Linked DNA regions of Homo sapiens: all the other regions are linked to region 2. The links are contacts of gene promoters, found by promoter capture Hi-C in blood cells and fetal thymus (Javierre and others, 2016). All regions are on one chromosome and are shown on one strand. Each heading gives the region's core, a stretch centred on a gene start or on the middle of the fragment in contact. The rest is flanking DNA. Distances are from core to core; before and after follow the strand shown. Region 1 overlaps COL4A3 (collagen type IV alpha 3 chain). Region 2 holds the start of CCL20 (C-C motif chemokine ligand 20). Region 3 overlaps COL4A4 (collagen type IV alpha 4 chain). Region 4 overlaps COL4A3 (collagen type IV alpha 3 chain).

Region 1 (2,930 bases), core at 247-2,746, 540 kb after region 2:
CAGACTTCAAAACTAGCTTAAGGACGACCAGCCCATAGAAACTTTCTTATTGAATCAACAAATATTTATAAGTGTAGACAATCGTCTAAACTTTGTTTTAACCTGTTTCCTGTTTACTCTGAGATAACTCACAGATGACGGTCCTAACTTTACCCTCTTACATTAGGATTAGAGACAAATTCTGTTTAGAAATAACTCCAAGAACAGTTATTGTATTTTATTTCACATTGAAAATCAGATTTGCTTCAGCCTCAAAGAATGTGTTTATGTAAAATTAAATGAGCGCTGGCAGCGAGCTGCAATTTTTTTTTTTTTCTAAAAGGGAAATTAATAGCCCAACATGCTGGTCTATTGAAAAGAGCCTATTCCAAAAAATTGATAATATGGAATTAAGTTTAAACGTTGGTGAATACTGATAGGATACTTATTTATTGGGTGGCTAGTTTCCACAGGAAGGCTATTGAACAAAACAGTAAGTTTTGATATGGGCAAGGCTGACATTGGTTTGTAAACCTGGACACTTTTCTTAACCTCTCTGATAAGTTCCTCATCTGTCGCGGGGGAAAGAATGCCTACCTAGCAGATAAGGACACGAGATAATATTCTGACCACAGTGGCAAACATTAAAAACATGTTTAGTGATAAGTGTTGTCCATATAGTCATTTATTTATAGAAAAAAATAGGTTTACAGTATGTGATGGGACAATTTTGGTAATAATATATTTTATGACAATGGAATCCTTTAGTAAAGATTCACACTTAGAAATCACAGAAGAGGCTGGGTGTGGTGGTTCACACCTGTAATCCCAGAACTTTGGGAGACCAAGGCGGGTGGATCACTTGAGGTCAGGAGTTCAAGACCAGCCTGGCCAACATAGTAAAACCCCGTCTCTACTAAAAATACAAAAATTAATCAGGCCTGGTGGTGTGCGCCTGTAATCCCAGCTACTCAGGAGGCTGAGGCACGAGATTCCCTTGAATCCAGGAGGTATAGGTTGCAGTGAGCCGAGATCACGCCACTGCACTGCAGCCTGGGTGGCAGAGCAAGACTCCATCTCAAACAACAACAACAACAACAACAACAACAGAGCATTTGGTGATGGATTAGAACAGGGCTAAATAAACTTTTGCTGTAAAGGGCCAGATAGTAAGAAATTTAGGCTTCGTGATTGAAATCTACCCAACTACTCAATTCTGCCATTGTAGCATAAAAGCAGCCAGAGACAGTACATACAGGAGTGCAGCTGTGTTCCAAGAAACTTTATTTATGGATACTCTAATTTGAATTTCATGTAATTTTCATGCATCACAAAATATCATTAAACATTTTTTTCAATCATTTGAAAATGTGAAAACCATTCTTAGCTTGAGGATCATACAAAATCAGGCAGTGGGCTGGTCTTGGACTGTGGTCCACCACCGTTTGCTAGTACCTGGATTAGAACAGCAGCCTCCTTCGGCCAGGCATGGTGGCTCATGCCTGTAATCCTAGCACTTTGGGAGGCCGAGGCAGGTGGATCACCTGAGGTCAGGAGTTCAAGACCAGCCTGGCCAACATGGTGAAACCCCATCTCTACTAAAAATATAAAAATTCGCCTGGCATGGTGGCAGGTGCCTGCAATCCCAGCTACTTGGGAGGATGAGACAGGAGAGTAACTTGAATTTGGGAGGCGGAGGTTGCAGTGAGCCAAGATTGCGCCATTGCTCTCCAGCCTGGGCGACAGAGCAAGATTCCATCTCAGACAAAAAAAAAAAAAGCAGCTCCAAAGTAAGGTGCAGATAAACATAAATATTTATTTGTTTATTTAATATATAGAGAAAGTCATAAAATAAGATTTACATACATGTGTGGACAGAAATGATGCATACATTTATAACATATAATGTAAGGTTGTGCACTCAAAAAGTTTTACTGATGAGGGAAGACACTACAAAATGATTTAGAGGTTTACTGGGTCTTACCCTTTAAAGTGATTTTTAAAATTTATTTATTTATTTATTTATTTATTTATTTATTTTTGAGACAGTATCTCAATCTGTTGCCCAGGCTGGAGTGCAGTAGCACGATCTTGGCTCACTGCAACCTCCACCTTCCAGGTTCAAGCGATTCTCCTACCTCAGCCTTCCAAGTAGCTGGGACTGTGGGTATGTGCCACCATGCTCAGCTAATTTTTGTATTTTTAGTAGAGATGGGGGTTCGCTATGTTGACCCGGCTGGTCTTGAACTCCTGACCTCAAGTGATCTGCCCACCTTGGCCTCCCAAAGTGCTGAGATTACAGGTGTGAGTCACTGTGCCCAGCCTAAGGTGATTTTAGAAGTAAAACATGACCATGTTGGCATTATTTGCTCAAAACTATCAGTAGCATGCTATTCTGACCTTCAGCCACACTCCTGAATCCAGAACTACGGCCAGTATATGTATATCCCAAAAGTTACCTGGACTTTTAAACTATTATCAGACCATTTTCCTTCATTTGTCTTAGATATTTTAAAGTTTTATTTGTAACCTGCCTATGGAGTTATGGATCAAAATCAACAAATTTGTGGCTGCGCACAGTGGCTCACGCCTGTAATCCTAGCACTTTGGGAGGCTGAAGCAAGGATTGTTTGGGGTTGGGAGTAGGAGACCAGCCTGGACAACACAGCAACATCCTGTCTCTACAAAAAATAAAAATAAAATATATATTAGCTGGTCGTGGTGACACGTGCCTGTAGCCCCAGCTACTCAGGAGACCAGGCAGGAGGATCTATTAAGCCCAGAAGTTTGAGGATGCAGTAAACTATAATTATGCCACTGCACTCCAGCCTGGGCAACACAGTGAGACCCTGTCTCTAGAAAACCACAAAAAACAAATTTGCAATAACGCTTAGGATCTATTCATTTCATATATATATATGTATGTATGTAATAGATATAGAATATTCTAG
Region 2 (2,928 bases), core at 30-2,529:
ATTCAAGAATATGAGCAGCCCCTTCCCTACTGCTTGAAGGAACCCTTATGTAGATAAACTTCCAAAAGCAGAAAATGAATAAATTGGCAGATTTTAATCTATTATCTGGCTACTAAGTATTGAGAAATAGAGCTACAAAGGGAAATATGATTTATAGGAGTGAAAACACTTTGAAATTGTCCTATTAATTAATAGGAATGTTTAATTTTGTTCATAAAAGTTCAACATGTGGTTGGGCATGGTGGCTCATGCCTGTAATCCCAGCACTTTGGGAGGCCAAGGAGGAAGGATTGCTTGCCTCCAGGAGTTCGAGACCAGCCTGGGCAACACAGTGAAACCCTGTCTCTACAAAAAAAAAAAAAATGTAAAAAAATTAGCCAGGTGAGTGGCACACGGCCGTGGTCCCTGTTATTCAAGAGGCTGAGACTGGAGGTTCACTTGACTCCAGGAGGTTGAGGCTGTAGTGAGCTGTAATCATGCCACTGCACTCTGGCCTGGGTGATGAAGTTAGACCCTGCCTCAGAAAAAAAAAAAAATTCAATGTGCATTTTTAGGAATGCACCTGTTGCTAAAAGTGTTGTGTGACTATTGAGCAATAAAGCAATACTTGGACATTCCCGAGTCAGATTACAACATGCTGTAAGGTAAGGGATTAATGTTATTTTAAAGTTGGCAAGCAATGTCCCCCATGCCTTGTGGGGATGTTGATGTCAGGTATTATAATCTACTTCTAAAGGATGAGTTTTGAACTTTACCAAAACTATTAAGTTGGGAGGTACGAAAGTTGGGGACACAGGAGGATTCTCTACATTTCAAAATGGCCCCATCTACTGGTAACATTACACACTTTATATCACTCCCAGAAACATCACTTTGGCTTTATCCTGAAGTTTAGGGATCTCTAAGAGCCCACCACTCCCCAAATCTGCTGAGATTGACAGCAGAGAGGAAAGCCTGATCCGCAGCAGTAACTCTTCTCTCCTCCACTCCACCATGGGCAGACAACTTCCATCACTACCTCTTGTATACTTCCTAACAGTTTTCCATCCCTTAGGGACCCCCAGTTGAGCTCAAGGCTAAAAGGAAAATGAAAATAGTCTTTCTTCTGTGCTAGCGGAAAGAGCGACACTTACCTTCTGATTCGCCGCAGAGGTGGAGTAGCAGCACTGACATCAAAGCAGCCAGGAGCAAACTCTTGGTACAGCACATGGTTTTTAGCTCAAAGAACAGATCTGCTCAGTGTTGAGTACCCAGTTCTTTGGGAGTGCTGTTATATTCTGACAGCAGCCTGGGATGGCCCTATTTATAGCAAATATTGGGAATGTACACAGAAGGCGTGTTGCCACATGGGGTTTTCCCCATTGATCAACTGGCCCCATCATGTCATCATAAAAAAAACCCGCAAGGAAAACTTCCTGCTTTTTCCTCATATTGGGAAGGTGCGAAGGTCAGGGTGGGGGACAGGAAGTTGAGAAGGGGAGAATCCTGTTAAATTCTTTGTATTTGCAAAGAGCAAAAGCAGCTCAGCCCTGTGACCCAGAAAAGACTTTCATCCAGTTTTAACTTAATCATTTTTGTGTCTGAAAATAGAGGATTAACAGCGATACAAAGGTCAGCCCCACACAGGAACATTCCAGAACTCCTATTGTTACACCCTATTTGCTTTCCAGAACCAGTCAAGGAGGAGGGGGAGGAGGAGCAGGTGGGATGCCAGGCATACTCTGCTACACATTTACCATCACATGGTTGAGGTTCAGCTGTCATGAAGAAGACCCTGAGTTGCTAGACTAACATTCAGAGCAGGTACTATAACAGTGCTACAGTACTGTCCGCAGTTAGAGTGGAAAATATCAGCCTTTAAGTAAGGCTCAAACCTCAGCTTCACCTTGATTTAATGTCAACTCTTCTAAGAATCTTATACATTCACATGGCTTTAATCAATATTGCAGTTCAGAAAATAATCCTTACCTACCTTTAACTCTCCATGATGATGTACTAATATAACTCAATATAGAGCCTCAGAATTGTTGAGGAAAGAAAACCTATCAGCAGTAGCTAGTCAGCACAGCAAATGTCAAATAACAGTACTAATGATGATAATGTAATATGAATCCCTAACCTAAGGCAGTATAAGAACTCTCCACTAGACCCAAATAGGTTGAAAGTAAAAGGATCAAAAGAAAGGTATACCAAACAGTAAACAAAAGAGAACTGGAGTTGGTGATGCCTATATCAGACAAAATAGATTTTTTTTTAATGTTACCGGAAATAAAAAGGGACTTTCATGGTAACACAAAATTAACCCATTGGGAAGATGTAAAACCTATAACCATATATATACCTAACAGTAGCACCCCAAACTACAGAAAGCAAAAACTGACAGAATTGAAGGGAAGAATAGGAAATTTTATTTTATTTTATTATTATAATTTCTTTTGAGACAGAATTTTGCTCTTGTTGCCCAGGCTGGAGTGCAGTGGCACCATCTCGGCTCACTACAACCTCCGCCTCCTGGGTTCAAGCGATTCGCCTGCCTCAGCCTCCTGAGTAGCTGGGACTACAGGCACGTGCCACCACGCCCAGCGAATTTTTGTATTTTTAGTAGAGACGTGGTTTCACCATGTTGCCCAGGCTGAACTCCTGACCTCATTACAGGCATGAGCCACCGTGCCCAGCAGAATAGGAAATTTAACAATAAAAGTTGACAGCTTTGGTACCACATTTTCACTAATTAATAAAATTTAGGCAGAAGATCCACAAGAAAATAGAAGACTTGAACAACACTATAAGCCAAATAGACTTAGCAGGCATCGAAGGACTACTCTATCCAACATCAACAGAATAGTTGCACATGGAATGTTCTCTAGGATAAAGCATATGGTAGGTTATGGAACAAGTCTCAGTAAATGTAAACCGACTGAAATCACA
Region 3 (3,325 bases), core at 18-2,517, 670 kb after region 2:
TTAATATTTCTGCATTTATAGATAACAACATTACTCAAAACTCAAGAGGCATATATTTCTGAAACTTCAAATACATTTTTAAACTTAAACTATCTAATCGCTTGACTCTCGTCAAGCTTCAAATTCTTGTATGCTTTTAATGATCCATGAGAATATTGTTTACAAAGATGTCTTTTTAAAATTAATGCTTAAAGATATTTTCTTTTGGATTGTGTCTGAGCATATTTTTCTCCAAAAAATAAGCCTAAACTGTGCGAGTGAAAAGAAAAATAATATATGCTGATTAGACTCTTTTCCCTCCCATACACATATACCTGTTCATATATATGTATACGTACATGAATATTCACATATACACATATATATTCAATGCATTCACACATACATATGTATATATGTCTTCCATGGGACTATAAATATTAGTTTTATTGTTTTATGTTTTCCCATCATACAGTGGTCTAAAGGCTTGAGTTTACAGCCTTAAGTTTAAAAAGGTTGATCAATCATAAAATTGTATGGCCAATGTATAAATGTTGCAATGACAGCTAGGCCAGATCATGAGCCAGGCAAACCTTTTCTCTGATGCTTTCTTGATATTCTTATCCATGCCCTTGGGTCCTAGCACCTAGAGGTGATTTGTCCACTACACAGGGGCCTAAACCACCACTCCCTCCCCACTGGCAGGCCCAGCCTGGGAATGCACGCTCAGTGCTCATGTTCATTGCAGGTGCATCATGGTGATTGCTGTTAAGGGATCTGCCTATGGAAATAGTACTCTGGGACTATGCTTTTATATGGAAGTGGATGATGACTCTGGATATAGGTGATTAGGATTCATGAGAACAAGGAGCTGATTCTTCCTAAAGGGTGTGTGTGTGTGTGTGTGTGTGTGTGTGTGTGTGTGTGTGTGTGTGATGCTCTAAAGACAGTGTTGGAAAGTTTGCTAAAAGTGGGGAAAAGGTCCAAATTATTCAAGTTCAGGAGTTTCTGTTTGAGAAACACATTAGAGAAACCATCTTGGAGTCTCAGCAAATTGTAGGAACAACAATTTTAATTTTAAGCCCAAGGATGGGACAGAAGAATTGTCCTAGGAAGGACAGTTTGATGAGGGAGGAGATACACTGTAGCTGATCTTGAAGATAAAGCAAAACAGGCCCTGAAAAAAAAACAAGCTTTTCATTTAAACTAGACTCCACTGTCTATGCATGGATTGCCTAACCACATAGTTTACACTCTAAGACTGTTCACAACTTAATAAATTAAGTCTTACCGAAAGGGAGAAACTGCAGAAGATTCCAGTTAAAGCCAAACGACTTTAGAAGGATACTTATTTTCCTTCAGCATCCTCAGTTTGGAAGCTTCTTGCTCATATAATCAACCCTCCTTATTATTAAGCTACTGTGTAAGTTCTTCATCTTTTTATATGTCATGATTAGTCTTTTCTTCTCATGGAGTCAAAGGTAAACCAAGAGTGCTTGTTATAATGTATGTGTTATGCACGTAGTTAAACGATGAGTACTGGTATACTAAATAAGATGCTTCACTTTCCAGAGTGGAAAGAAATACATTGGTCCTTGTGGAGGAAGAGATTGCTCTGTTTGCCACTGTGTTCCTGAAAAGGGGTCTCGGGTAAGTGATGTAAAGACCAACATGGGCAGCATTCCTGAATTTTGAGAACTTGTGAATATTTAATATAAAGTAATCCCAGATTCTTGGCAAATTTTAGTCCTCGATAATGTTTATGTATTTCACAGCCGAAGTTTTTCACATTCTAATAGCAATCTCAACTATATTAGACAGTCCAGGCTTAGAAGATAGTCTAGGAAGCTGCGATTCACCCATTGTTTTATATGACACTAGTCTTGTGAATTGTCCTGTGGAGGAAGGGTCCTGGTGTGAAATGGTAACTACTGGGTCACCATCCTGAAATATGGCATTTTAAAGGCTCTGAGAGGTACTGAAGTTGGTAGAAAAAAATCCAAGTTTGTTTGGTCTTTCCAGACAGTTGACCACAGGACTCTTTCTTGGATTGTCGCTATTGAAACAAGTGGCACAGTGTTCTAATGAAGTGATAGCTATATTTTTTGTATGCTTGTTATGTGCCAGGCACTGTTCTATGAGTTCAAAATGCTTCTGCTCATTGACTTCTCGTAAGAACCTTCTTAGGATACCATGTTTGCAGTGCAGGAGACTGAAGCCCAAGAAAGTTAGTGTCTTGCTCAAGTCCACCCAGAACGTTTGCGTTGATGACCACGCTAGATTCTCTGTTCTGCAAAGCCAAGAACCTCTTTGGTTACTGTCTGTCAGGTCTCTTGAACATTTGTTAATGTCTCCCCCATGTTCTGACAGCAGCCCACTAATTCATTTGTGATAAAGTATTAGATCAAACAATTCTCTAATTACAATTACTCCCACAATCTCACAAGAAAGGAGTGTGGTATAGAAGTTTGGGACAATTTTTGAGTCAGATCAATGATTCTTTTGAAATGTGTCCTCATCCATTCTCGCTGCTGTAACAGAATACCATAGACTGGGTGGCTTACGAGAAATTTATTTCTCACAGTCCAGGAGGGTGGGAACCCCAAGAACAAGGTGCTGGCAGATCCAGTGTCTTGCTGAAGGCCTGCTTCCTGGTGTGCAGATGGTGTCTTCTCACTGTATCCTCATATGGTGGAGAGAAAGAGTCCTCTGGGGTCCCATTTATATGGGCATTCATCCAATTCATGACTACTCCGCTCTGATTAATTACCTCCCAAATACCCCATCTCCTCCTACTATCACCTTGGGGGTTAGAATTTCAGCATATAAATTTTGGGGGCCACAAACATTCAGTCTGTAACAGTGTTCAAGTCAATTGTAGGGGGCTGTGCATGACATTCAAAAAGCACAGTACAGTAAAGAGGAGTCTACAAGGACACAAAACACTACCCACAAGAGAAGGGACAACATATTTCTCTCATGGTATTGCTTCATCTTTACACAGCAGGTGTGCAATGGGTTCCTTTGTTGGCCTATTTTACTGGGAGCAGCTACCTTATTGAGCATAAGTTATGACAAATCCACTGATGCTTAAACTGCTTTGTTCCTTCTTCAGTACATCAAAAATTTTGTTCATCAGAATTTATCTTGAGCTTTTTCTTTTTTTTTTTTTTGTTTTGAGACAGAGTCTCGCTCTGTCACCCAGGCTGGAGTGCGGTGGCGCGATCTCGGCTCACTGCACGCTCCGCCTCTCAGGTTCACGCCATTCTCCTGCCTCAGCCTCCTCAGTAGCTGGGACTACAGGCGCCCGCCACCATGCCTGGCTCATTTTTTGTATTTTTAGTAG
Region 4 (2,951 bases), core at 343-2,842, 650 kb after region 2:
ATGAATGGTATACACGTTTGCAGCTATAACACTGCAAAACATTAGAATCTACAATGAACTCAAACAAATTTATAAGAAAAAAACAAACAACCCCATCAAAAAGTGGGCAAAGGACATGAACAGACACTTCTCAAAAGAAGACATTTTTGCAGCCAAAAAACACATGAAAAAATGCTCACCATCACTGGCTATCATAGAAATGCGAATCAAAACCACAATGAGATACCATCTCTCACCAGTTAGAATGGCAATCATTAAAAAGTCAGGAAACAACAGGTGCTGGAGAGGATGTGGAGAAATAGGAACACTTTTACACTGTTGGTGGGACTGTAAACTAGTTCAACCATTGTGGAAGTCAGTGTGGCGATTCCTCAGGGATCTAGAACTAGAAATACCATTTGACCCAGCCATCCCATTACTGGGTATATACCCAAAGGATTATGAATCATGCTGCTATAAAGACACATGCACACGTATGTTTATTGCGGCACTATTCACAATAGCAAAGACTTGGAACCAACCCAAATATCCAACAACGATAGACTGGATTAAGAAAATGTGGCACATATACACCATGGAATACTATGCAGCCATAAAAAATGACGAGTTCATGTCCTTTGTAGGGACATGGATGAAACTGGAAATCATCATTCTCAGTAAACTATCGCAAGAACAAAAAACCAAACACCGCATATTCTCACTCATAGGTGGGAACTGAACAATGAGAACACATGGACACAGGAAGGGGAACATCACACTCTGGGGACTGTTGTGGGGTGGGGGGAGGCGGGAGGGATAGCTTTAGGAGATATACCTAATGCTAAATGACGAGTTAATGGGTGCAGCACACCAGCATGGCACATGTATACATATGTAACTAACCTGCACATTGTGCACATGTACCCTAAAACTTAAAGTATAATAATAATAAAATAAAAAAAAGAAAAAAAAGAAGGAAAGAATATACTATTTGATTGAAAATGTTGGGACGATTTGTCATCTACATGGAAAAAGATAAAAGTAGATCTCATAATTCAGAAAATAATTACAGGATTAAGAGATCTAACTGTAAAAGAGCTAAACTATGAAACTTTTTTTAAATGTAGGAGAACATTCCTATAATCCCAGGAAAGGAAAAAAAAATTTTGACAAGGTACAAAAGACAAAATGTCAAAACAAAATCAGTTTGAGATTATAGTGAAAACAGTATTATACATTAAGGCACCAATAACTCAAAGATAAACCAAAGATTGGAATAAAATATTTGCTATACACTTTAATGACAAAAGTTTTGTATCCAAATATATAAATAACTTCTAATTAATTAGCAACAAAAAGGCAAAGTTCACAATAGATAAACAGACAGAAAGTTGCACTATGCAGTTCACACTGAAGGAAATATAAAGGGCCAATTAAAAAAGAAAAAAGTTTACAAACTCACTGGTCAAAACAAGATCTCATTTCACACCATTAACATCTAAGCACACCAAGCTTTGCCAAAGACATAGGGAAACAGGCACTCTGGTACATTGTTGGTACAACCCTTTTGCAGATGAACTTGTCAATTCCTAATATATTTAAATTTGTTTTCTCTACGAACCACTTAGGAATTCAAATTCTAGTTGTCACAGTGGTGCATATACCAAAATATGCATTGCAACTTTATAAAATGAAAATATAAAGACAAGCTTACTTTGTTTAGGGAGATGGAAAAATGAATCATACTTTATATAACTAGATACTATGCAGCAGCTATTACTACAAATACATCATATCTATATGTACCAACATGGATAAAATCCAAAAACATAATATGGAGTGATAAAAAGCAAGCTCCAATAGATACGTGTAATGTGAAACTATTTATCACATATGAAAGACCACAAAACAATAATACTTATTTTTTACGGAGAACAGACACACACACACAAAACTGTGCAGGGAAATTACATACATAAACTTTTTGGGATGGAAGAGGGAGTAAAGAATGTGTGTATGACTTTCTGTATTCAGATTTTTTTTTTCCTAAAGGTAGAAATCTGAGAACAAACAAGTCAAAGTATATTAATACTTGCTTAATCTCAGGGATAGATAAGTTGGTGTCTGTTCCATTACTTTTTGTTTTCTAATTTAACTGAAAGTGCTTAAATTTGAAAATGAAGCCCGGTGAGAAGGCATCCTCCCCAAATGTAGGTGTTTTTCACGTTTTGACATTTGCTTCTCATATTGCTGCCCTGTCTGGAATGCTAAGGCAAGAAGAAGGATAAACCATGATATCTTAATGTGTGAACATCACCTTATCCAGAAATCAAAGAAGGGGCTTTCTATACCTCCACTCCCAGGTCTATTGCCTGAGACAACAACAAGGTGCCGCCCTATTTCAAGTGGGTGAGCTGGGCCCTGACAGCTATAAAACCTGGGGATGCGCTGGGCAGCCAGCCTGGAACTGGATGCCTGTGCAAAGTAGCAGAGGTATTTAATTCTCGGCACATCAGTCCAAATTGTGTGGGTGGACAGTTCCACCCCGTCTAAACAAACTTAGCATGTAGAGTCAACACCGCTGCTATTTCCCTGTTTTGAGAAATGCTAAAGTAAAACTGAATAAATTGGAGCGAAACACATCCTTAACTGGAGTAGAACAAAAATAATAAAATATAATGGCTCCAAAGTTACATTTAGCTCTCACTTATACATTGTTTGGCCCACACTATGTTTTTGTAAAGTTTTGGCTTAGTTGCTAATATTTAGAATTTGAGAAGTTTCTAATAAAAACTGGATTCCCAACTTCTCTCTTGAAGTGATGCTGGCACAATTGGGCTTGAATTCTAGCATGCTAACAACTAGGTTCTGAAGAGTCTCTCTTACCCCATTGCCTTACTCCTTACTTCACCTGCTGGCCCCACTGGGGTTTCAACTCTCATTTTACACATGAGAAAACTGAGGCTCAGAGT

Evidence for each region. Contacts are between HindIII fragments. The CHiCAGO score rates a contact against its expected background, and 5 or more counts as called.
Region 1: a contact is called between a fragment that was not itself captured here and the fragment with the promoter of CCL20 in region 2, in 1 of 17 cell types (naive B cells). The highest score is 5.1, in naive B cells.
Region 3: a contact is called between a fragment that was not itself captured here and the fragment with the promoter of CCL20 in region 2, in 1 of 17 cell types (naive B cells). The highest score is 5.2, in naive B cells.
Region 4: a fragment that was not itself captured here is called in contact with the fragment with the promoter of CCL20 in region 2 in 1 of 17 cell types (naive CD4 T cells); the score reaches 5.4 in naive CD4 T cells.

The regions. Positions count from the first base shown.
Region 1 is chr2:227,273,328-227,276,257 of GRCh38, reverse strand. The region is part of intron 26 of COL4A3 (collagen type IV alpha 3 chain); the gene reads right to left. All of the region lies in intron 4 of MFF-DT (MFF divergent transcript), which reads left to right. Among named protein-coding and RNA genes, the nearest start is that of MFF-DT, 50 kb to the left of the region's middle. The HindIII fragment of the contact is 3,156 bases long and covers 1-2,930 here.
Region 2 is chr2:227,812,193-227,815,120 of GRCh38, reverse strand. It overlaps CCL20 (C-C motif chemokine ligand 20), which reads right to left and starts at 1,279. Exons shown (of 4, transcript NM_004591.3): 1 at 1,134-1,279. The coding sequence starts at 1,209. The HindIII fragment of the contact is 16,817 bases long and covers 1-2,928 here.
Region 3 is chr2:227,138,465-227,141,789 of GRCh38, reverse strand. COL4A4 (collagen type IV alpha 4 chain) reads left to right here. Exons shown (of 48, transcript NM_000092.5): 4 at 1,552-1,629. Among named protein-coding and RNA genes, the nearest start is that of COL4A4, 24 kb to the left of the region's middle. The HindIII fragment of the contact is 186 bases long and covers 1,175-1,360 here.
Region 4 is chr2:227,166,875-227,169,825 of GRCh38, reverse strand. All of the region lies in intron 1 of COL4A3 (collagen type IV alpha 3 chain), which reads right to left. Among named protein-coding and RNA genes, the nearest start is that of COL4A3, 3.7 kb to the right of the region's middle. The HindIII fragment of the contact is 197 bases long and covers 1,494-1,690 here.